2 separate regions of the Homo sapiens genome follow, and region 2 is linked to region 1. The links are contacts of gene promoters, found by promoter capture Hi-C in blood cells and fetal thymus (Javierre and others, 2016). All regions are on one chromosome and are shown on one strand. The core of a region is centred on a gene start or on the middle of the fragment in contact, and the rest is flanking DNA. Distances in the headings are between cores, read along the strand shown.

Region 1 (4,935 bases), core at 1,345-3,844:
AAAATTAAAAACAAATTGATCCATATCTTAACACTGGCAAAGATTAAAGTCCAAATGGATTATAGTTCCCCAAAACTGTATAATTTCTAGAAGACAACAAGGAAAACGTGTTCAGCCTTGGGTTAGGAAAAGATTTCTTAAATCCAACACCAAAAGCACAATCCATGAAGGAAAAATCGATAAATTGTACTTTATCAAAATTGAGAACTTCTCTTTGAAAGGTACCATAAGGAGAACAAAAAGACAAGCTGTAGAGTGGCAGAAAAATATTTGCAAAACATTTCTGATAAATGAGTTGCATCTAGATTACATAAAGAAGTCTCAAAACTGAACAAGTAAACCCATTGTTTACTTAATCGCTGTTTCTCCTGAGCTTGCTGCCTCTGCCCCTGCTCTCTCTCCTTTTCCATTTGTTTTCAACATTGAATCCAGAATGTTCTTCTTGAGATCCAAGTCAGATCACACCAACCCTCAGAACTCTCCAATAGACGACCATGGCACTCAAAAGTCCACAATAGCCTTCAATGCTGGGCAAAACATGAAGCACCCCTTTTCTCCCTTCTCTGACCCCATCACCTCTGTGTTCACCCTGCTCCTGCCGTCCTCCCTGCCTCCAAAACAGGTCAGGCCTTCGTGCCTTTGCACTTACTATTTGCAATACCCAAATGTTCTTCAGGCTCTTTAGCCTCTTCATTTCTTTCCTGAAGTGTCATTCTCACTGAGGCTTATCTAAAGCTGCAGCTACTGGGGCATTCCTGTCTCATCTCCCTGCTGTATTTTGTACTCCCGGCTCTCTTTTGTACTTTTAAACATACTATATGGTTTACCTTTGTTGTTTATATTTGCATGTTGTTTCCCACTTGAATGTAAGCTCCAAAGATTTTATTTTTTTAAACTGAATTATTACTGTATTCCCAGAACAATTCCCTGGCAAATATTTGGTACTCAATAGTAATGCTAAGTTAGTAAATAAATGATGAATTTAGAATCAAAATAATGTGTCTATGGCCAAAATAAAACCTGAAATCCCTGTCCTATTTCCCAGAGGTAACTGCTGTTAATAGTTTAGTTGTGTGCTTCCAGACATACCTTCACAGAATCATTTATCACAATAAAGGTGTCATACTATGCAGATTGTTTGACAAGATGCTTTTTTTCACTTTACACGGGCATCTTTTCATACCATTGTGTGGCCAGGCCATGATTTGTTTTCCAAAAGACATTTACCCAATTTATATGGTGAAGATTTTTGTCCATATTACTTTTTATAGTATTTCTGTAGGGTAAGTTCCCAGAAGTAATATTGCACGATCATCGAAAAATTTTAGTGTTACATTACTGCCCCATAAAGGTACTAATTAACATCCCTCTCAACAACATAGAAGATTCCTTTTTTTTTTTTTCTTTTTTTGGGTGGAGGGGGGCGGGGACAGAGTCTTACTCTGTCGCCCAGGCTGGAGTGCAGTGGTGCCATTTCTGCTCACGGCAACCTCCACCTCCCGGGCTCAAGCTATTCTCCTGCCTCAGCCTCCCAAGTAGCTGGGAATACAGGCACGCGCCACTACGCCCAGCCAATTTTTGTAGAGAAGGGGGTTTCACCATGTTAGCCAGGCTAGTCTCGAACTCCTGACCTTGTGATCAGTGCTGGGGTTACAGGCGTGACCCACCGCGCCCGGACGGATTTCTTGTTTTCATACTGTCATCAACTTTAAATACAAGTATTTTCAGTTTTTGCCAATGCTGTTAATTTAGAAATGTGTATGTATATATTGTCTGGTGGGTGTTTGGATGGAAACGATCAAAATCGGGCAACTTCCCCAGTTTCCTTGAAGGGAGTGCTTGCCATCGGCCCCTCTGGGAAGTAGCTCTCCGTAGTTCTCCATCTTCCTGTTTTGAGGAACGCAGGAGGAGGTGGATCTGGAGTCTCATCCATTCGGTGGCTGTTAACGGCAACTGCAGCAGCCAGCCAGGTCACCCCCTAAAGCAAAGTTAACCCCTTGCATGGTGCCTTGGTCAGCACCCACCAAATTCGAGGTTTCTCCTATCCTTCGACTCGAGGCTCTTTTGACAGATGTGATTTATTTCCTCCTAGAGCCAGTCACATTGGCTCAAGCAACCTATCGTAAGAAAACAAATACAATAGTGTTTTAGCTGGAAACTGCCCACTGTCTAAGCGGCTTTTTAAATTAAGAACTCAGGTTCACTACGGGATGGCTTAGGCCAGGGAACAGCATGTGCGAAGTTCGAAGCCCGAGAAGTTTGGAGGAGCGGCCCCAGGCGCAGGCGGGTCCCGCAGCGGGGCCCGTGCCGCCCAGGCGATCAGCCCCTTCACTTAACCCGCTTCCCTCCTAGCAGGCCCGAGTCCCCTAGCCTCAGCCTCACGCAGCCAGAGCAAGGGGAAGAGGGAGTCCTTCGTGAGTTCGCCGCTCACATTCGGCGGTGGGAAACCGATCCGAAGATGCTTTTGTAGGCGAAACGCTCAGCTCGCGCGGCTCTGAACCACCGGGGAGCAGCGGCTGCTGCTAGTCGGACTACGCCAGCACCTCCTTGTCCAGCCCGGGAGCAGCCCCGCCTCGCTCAGGGCCGCGTGCGCGTGCGCGGCTCCAGGGGCGGGGCCTGCTCGCGTCCCGGGTGCCTGGATACCGAGCGCGTCCGTAGTGGCGGCTGGCGCTAGGGAACTGCAGGGTCTAGGGTGTTGTCGGAGTGGCAGTTGGTCCGAATTTCTCCCGAAGCCCGCGGAGGAGCGGGTAAGAGCCCCGCGAATCCGGCCCCAACCTCGGGAACGGGATGGGAGGCGGCCCTGGCCGCAAGCCCCGCGCTGCTAGCGGGTCCACCGCGTCGTAGCCGACAGCCGCCCTTCTTCCTCGCAGCGCGCCGCGATTCACCAGCCTGGTCCCTTCTGCGGAGAGCGATGCCGCTTCCCGACACCATGTTCTGCGCTCAGCAGATCCACATTCCCCCGGAGCTGCCGGACATCCTGAAGCAATTCACCAAGGCTGCCATCCGCACCCAGCCGGCCGACGTGCTGCGGTGGTCCGCGGGGTAAGCGCCCTTGGCCCGGGGAGCTGTCCGGTCTACATGCCCAAGCCAGACGAGCCCAGAGAGCCCTCCTCCCGGACCAGGGGCCTTACGCGGCACTCAGCGTCCTTAAGAGTATCAGGCAAAACTTTCCCCTTAGCATTGGTGACATCTATACTTGAGTGTTTTATCTAGGAACCATTTCGATTTATCGACTATGAGACCCGAAATCATTGCAAAATGCTCACTTACCTACAACGTAATGGCAACTCAATTGTTTAAAAGTGTTTATGATGAAGATAGACTAAAACTTAACAAAGTAATTGCATTGGGCAAAAAAGTGTTTACATTATGTTAAAAAAATTACACGGTTGCAGTCACTTTGTGAAATGACTTTACAAAGAGGAATATTTTAGCTAAGTTCCTCATCTGCAGAGAGTCCTCTCAGAGCTATGTATACCCAGAGCTGGTTAAATTTATTAGAACCGGAACGACCGTGGTCATACTGAGGTCATCATCCCTAGAGTGCTCAGGGTAAACTGTCCAGCAAATGAAGCTTCACAGTTTATTTTTTGCCACAAACATTCCAACACTTGCCAGGAACAGACATTCATAATCTCAAAGTTACAAGTCAACAGATCTTAGAGGCATTAAAAGAAATCCTCTTGGTTTTACAGGAGAGCTCTTTGCCCCTTTTCAATAAACAGATGTAAAACAAAAACTCACTTTTATGATGACAAGAGTCAGCACAGGTGTAAATTTAATTTAAATATTTTAGTCATCAACATTTCAAATTTTGGCTGGGCTTGGTGGTTCATGCCTGTAATCCCAGCACTTTGGGAGGCCAAGCTGGGAGGATCACTTGAGCCCAAGAGTTTGAGACCAGCCTGGGTAACACAGCAAGACCCCATCTGTATTTTTTTTAATAAGAAAACTAATTTAAAAAGAAAAAAAACAGCCAAATTTTGCTGGCTTTAAACTCTATAACCAAAGTGAATTAGTTTCGTTTGGCTGCTGTAACAAATCACCACAAAACTTGACAGCTTAAAACACAGACATACATTTGGGCCGGGCGCGGTGGCTCACGCCTGTAATCCCAGCACTTTGGGAGGCCGAGGCGGGTGGATCATGAGGTCAGGAGATCGAGACCATCCTGGCTAACAAGGTGAAACCCCGTCTCTACTAAAAATACAAAAAATTAGCCGGGCGCGGTGGCGGGCGCCTGTAGTCCCAGCTACTCGGGAGGCTGAGGCAGGAGAATGGCGTGAACCCGGGAAGCGGAGCTTGCAGTGAGCCGAGATTGCGCCACTGCAGTCCGCAGTCCGGCCCGGGCGACAGAGCGAGACTCCGTCTCAAAAAAAAAAAAAACACAGACATACATTCTTGCAGTTCTGGAGGCCAGAAGTCCAAATTAGTTTCACTAGGCTAAAATCAAGGTGTTGACAGGGCTTTGCTCTTTCCAGTGGTTCTCAGGAAAACCCAGCTCGTTTCCTTGCCTTTTCTGGCTTCTAGAGCTGCATTTCTTGGACGCCTTGGCTCATGTCCCCTTCCTCCATTTTCAAGGCCAGCATCTTCAAATCTCCCTCTGCCTCCTTCTTCCAAGGACACTGGTGATTGCATTCAGTGGCCATCCAGATAGTCCAGGGCAGTTTTCCCACCCGAGATCCTTATCAGTCCACAAAATCCCTGTTACCATGTAAAGTAACATTCCCAGGTTCCTGGAACATGGACCTGGATACCTTTGGGGCTGTTATTTTACCCACCAACTGAGCTACTTGTCCATCCAGTGCTTGCCTTCTGAGAAATGCTTTTATCAATGGTTTCTGAAAGACTCTTTCAAAGTTCTTGCTAAAGAAATATAGCCTCTGGTTTTAACCATTATTCAAGCTTAAATAAAAGGATTTATAAGAGTTTGTG
Region 2 (4,935 bases), core at 942-3,441, 1.6 Mb after region 1:
CTACAACATATACTGTGATTCTGAATATAAATCTCTGTCATATTGGCCAGGGTTTCTCATCAGTAAATTGTTAGTAAAATTTTCCTTCTGCATGAAAATTTGAAACTCACCTATTTAGAAATAAAATTTATCTCAAAAAGAAAAATGTATCTTGGGAGTCTTGTACTTTACAAATATAGTCAACATTATTAGTTCTGACCCACTAAATCAATCCATCAGTATTCAGGCAAAACTCTGAAAAATGTAACCATGATTTTCACAAAGTAAATAAAAATTACAATGGTGTTATAAGTAATGATCTGCTCTCTACAACCTACTGTAAACTTTTCTTTCAAAATGATCTTTCTAAACAATGTCCCCAGATGACAAAGTATGCAATAGAGTTTTTCTTACGCCAGTTTTAATTTCTGTGTATATTCCCAATTAATTATATATCCTAATATTTATGCGGCCCTCTGTCACTTGCAAAGTGCTTTCACACTTTTACGTTTATTATTATCTCATCTCAAATTAACATCACTCTTTGGTAAAAACAAGTGGGTATTATAATTCCAATTTGAGTGGTGAAGAAGAGATTCAAAGAAGTTAATTATTTGCCCAACATCAAATAAAAAGTGATTTGCAGAGCTAATAAGAGTCGTAAGTATTTACTAGTCAACAAACACATCCTGGTCCTTATGACAGGTGTGTCATATACATTCCCCTATAATGCTTGCCTCAGCCTTCGAAGGAAGATAATATTACCTCCAATTAACTATGATCACCAAGTTAACCCAGGTGAGTAAGTAGCGGAATCTAAAATTACAGTGGTGTTACAAATTAAACTAGACTAAACTAAGAGCATTTCACTGTGTGTTATAATATAGTTTTCTCTCATTCAGATTAGCTTTGCTTTTTTCATCTAATAATTTATATCGAGACATTTGTTATCATAGAAAAATTTGGGTACATATTTTTCAAGTCAAAGAATGACATATAAAATAATTTATAGTGGAGACAGTATCTTTTTAAAAAGTAATTCTTTTGAATGGTAATTTTCTATCGGATTACCAAGTTCTTCTCCCTGAAGAGAGCTTTAATAGGAGAGTCGGCATATGGCAATGTTGACTTAGGTGTTGCAACATGAAATAACTGGAAATGTTTAACTCATGTTCATACTTATTTAATTCTTTTAGACATTCCTCTTAGTGAATATTTAGATAATGGAGTAGAGAAGAAATCCTATGGAAACTTTATCATCATCATCAAATATTTATTTCTAAGCACCTCACAAAATAAAGAAGATATAACTTCTTCCTAAACCTATAAATCCGAAAAAGGGGATCTAAAGACTACACATCCAGAACGAAGTATTTTTCAAATAATTAATTAAATTTATGCTTACAAATAAAAAATCAAATAGGTTTAAAGGAATAATTAAAATTAAGAAATATTGGGGAAATATTTGAAGGTAAACTTTCTATCTAAGAGGATATGGGTCAAACTGATGTAATTGACAAATTACCATAGTAATTTTTAGGAGCTGGTTTGATAAGTTTATAGAGTAGAAACAAATGAAGCTATCTATGGTAGAAAAGAGTAGATGTTGTCTTCCTCAAAAAATTACATATTACACATATTACAGTGCCTGCTTTTTTAAAGTAAAGTGCTCAGATGTTGGGGAAAAAAAACCCATTTTTGCTATTGTTTCAGTATCTCTGAAAAGAGATTACTTCAATTTTTGGTGCTAGGATATTGATATTATCATAAGATATAGCACAGTGAACTAAAACTGGCTCATGAATTTGGGATTTTTAATTAAAAGAATGAATCAATCACCGTGGAGATTCAACCAGAGTAAAAGCTTCAAGGAATGGAATTTACATCATCTTAAATTAGGTTATTTTTCAGAGCATTACTCTTTAGGGACGTTACCTACCTTAATTCTAGTAAGCAAGAAGACAATTAAAGGTAATTTATATGTTTTTCTAATATTACTTTTGAATATTAATCCTGAAGAATTATCTAGTCTCTGACTCTCATGTACATTGCTATTTGACTCATTACTTGAAAACACTTGTATAACTCATATTAAACAATATTAGTGTTATCAATGCGGCCACAGCTCTGTAGTTATTGCTTGGCTGTGCGGACATTTTACTTCTCCATATTTCTATTGCCACTTAGTTCCGTTGAATTTGATTGTCTATTTTAAGGAACAAAAATCAACTTACATTAGGTACAGGAGTTAATGGGGTCATTCATTCACAAACTCTCAAAGAACCAAGTAATAAGTTGGTTTCCATATGTAGCACTGCCCTCTACTGGGCAAAGAAAAGTCTGATGTTATTAATGGTTTTCTAATTTCAGTACTTAAAGGCAGCTTAGTAGAAAATACTGATAGAGATATTCGAATTGAACTACCCTGATAGTTTTTTAAGGTGAAGAGCCTGATTATTATTATAGAATATGAGAATCTTAACATTTTGTAAAGACATTTTACTTCCTTTTCCTCTTGTTTTGATTAAACATGATCTTTGATTTGACCTTAGATTCTTTCGAAGCTTCAACATATGAAAAATATGGTATATTGTACTATAAACTAGTAATGTAATAATGAAATTAAAGTCAATTTGGCATTAATTCAAGGGTTTTTTATTTGAATTTGCTCTTGGTAGACATAAACAAGTATCTTTATTTTTAAAATTGTTTATAATTTATTTTGTTTATAACTTTATATTGATAATCAGTTTATATTTGGATGATAATATTTGGATGTTTGCTTTAAGGTATACCTTATGTAGGATATCAACAAGAGACTGTGAAGTGTTATCTTTTCTCATTTTCTCCTTACTCTGTTACAACGTAGGGCAGGGGTTTTAGGAAATCACACCATAACCAGACTCTGTTAATTACCGTAAAAGACAAAAGTTCAATACAAGTTTTTAGTGTGCTCATAAACATAAAATCTAAGTAATGTTGAATAACATTGGAAAACATGATTAGTTACATCAGCAAATGTAAACAGTTTGGATCAAACTGGGTAATACAATCAGCATTAGATGTCAGAACTCACGGAGATGGCAAAAACACACACACAATATTTTTCCGCATTGTTTCCATGATTTGAAATCTAATGAAGCTCACATCTTTTAAAATTTTGCATGTCATATTAATATTTGTCTCAGCCAAACTTTTACAAGATACAGAATGACAGAAGACTCGATATTATTCCCTTACAGGTATCTGTAATGATATTACATGTATTTGTCGGGGAAGAAACAAACTTTTAAGAATCAGCTGAATTAAGGTAGAATTTACACCCATCTGTGAAAACAGAGGATACATTGAAGACATTTGCCAGTTAGGCCGGGTGTGGTGGCTCAAGCCTGTAATCCCAGCACTTTGGGAGGCAGAAGGATCACTTGAGGTCAGGAGTTTGAGACCAGCCTGGCCAACATGGTGAAACCTCATCTCATTCTCAAAAATTAGCTGTGTGTGGTGGCGCACACCTGTAATTCCAGCTACTTGGGAGACTGTGGCAGGAAAATCGCTTGAACCCTGGAGGCAGAGGTTGCAGTGAGCCGAGATTGTGCCACTGCACTCCAGCCTGGGCAACAGAACGAGACTCCATCTCAAAAAAATAAATAAATAAAGTAAAGATATTCACCAGGTGGGAGCAAAGGGGATATCAGATGGCAGGGCCAACATTCTTCTCTGAAAATACTTTTTGTTGACTCTTTTTGACTAAAATATTACTCTAACCTGAAAGTGGAAGGTAATAGACACCTTTCAGTGAGGATTTTTTTCAGAAAGATTTACCAACAATTTTTTGCATAATGATGATCCAAAAGCCATATTTTTCAGTAGAACTATATTTATAAGAATTCTAAAGAGAATGAAATATTAATGGTGTCTATTTCTTTTAAAAGTGATATGGCTGGTAGGGATGCAGTAAATGCCTTGAAGTTGTACCGCCCAAAATGCCTTAAATCCTATTACTGAGCATTCTTGGGGCTATTGTGAACACTTACCTGACTTTCAATGCACATTCTAAGAATAAAAGCATCCATCATGACATTACCCCATCCAATATCCTTGATGGTTTTCTGTCATATATTGGTTAAAATCTAAAATCCCCCTTATTGGCATGAGACCCTGCAGATCTTACCTCTCTTTTCTCCTAAGCTTGATATCCACTATGCATGGCAGGTGTACCTACACAGTCACTCACATCCAGTGAACAAACCATATCAAACTCTTCTATTTCTCTAAAACAGAAATTCTTCATAGTACACAGAGAAGACATGAAAAGAATCTCATTGATCTACAATATAATGAATAGAAGATACTTAAAATGTTGTCTTCACAATCACTAACTTAAATTTAGTGGTTCTTTCCTTTATGAATGTAAGCAGACAACCATCATAAGAAGTACTTGATTCGCACAGATCACACAACCAAAAAAAAAGAAGTCCTTGCGACTTTCTCACCAATAGAAATTATCTCTATTTTTATAATATTTTGTACTTGTTGCAGATACTCAAATTGTCATTAACTGATGATTACTTTAAAATTATAGTAGGTATAAGAGCTAACATTAGAGCTATCCTAATAATCAGTAATTAAGCATAAATTTCATTACACATTTTGTAATGATTAGATAATTGTGCTTATAACTTTTTTGTCATCATATTTTTAACGTTATGGCTTATTTAGTCAATTTATAATTAATGTAATTATCAATATATACATTTTATTCTTCTATTTGCTTTCTATTTAATTTTTTAAAAATCATTTTTCTAATTTCTTGCCTTCTTTGTATTAATCAAACATATTTTTGTCATTTTCCCTACAATTATGTCAATTAAACATGATTTTAGTATTCTTTTAATAGTTACCTTGGAGATTACAATTTATGTCATTGACTTACACAGTCTATGACAAATTATTTCT

Evidence for each region. Contacts are between HindIII fragments. The CHiCAGO score rates a contact against its expected background, and 5 or more counts as called.
Region 2: a contact is called between a fragment that was not itself captured here and the fragment with the promoter of ROPN1L-AS1 in region 1, in 1 of 17 cell types (total B cells). The highest score is 9.1, in total B cells.

Annotation. Positions count from the first base shown.
Region 1 is chr5:10,439,257-10,444,191 of GRCh38, forward strand. It overlaps ROPN1L-AS1 (ROPN1L antisense RNA 1), which reads right to left and starts at 2,595. Exons shown (of 2, transcript NR_102746.1): 1 at 2,432-2,595; 2 at 1,479-2,117. ROPN1L (rhophilin associated tail protein 1 like) reads left to right here and starts at 2,623. Exons shown (of 5, transcript NM_031916.5): 1 at 2,623-3,042. The coding sequence starts at 2,912. It overlaps MARCHF6 (membrane associated ring-CH-type finger 6), which reads left to right. Exons shown (of 26, transcript NM_005885.4): 26 at 1-1,132. RefSeq lists a silencer at 2,477-2,736. The HindIII fragment of the contact is 3,763 bases long and covers 1-3,572 here.
Region 2 is chr5:12,021,533-12,026,467 of GRCh38, forward strand. No RefSeq gene overlaps it. Among named protein-coding and RNA genes, the nearest start is that of CTNND2, 120 kb to the left of the region's middle. The HindIII fragment of the contact is 700 bases long and covers 1,842-2,541 here.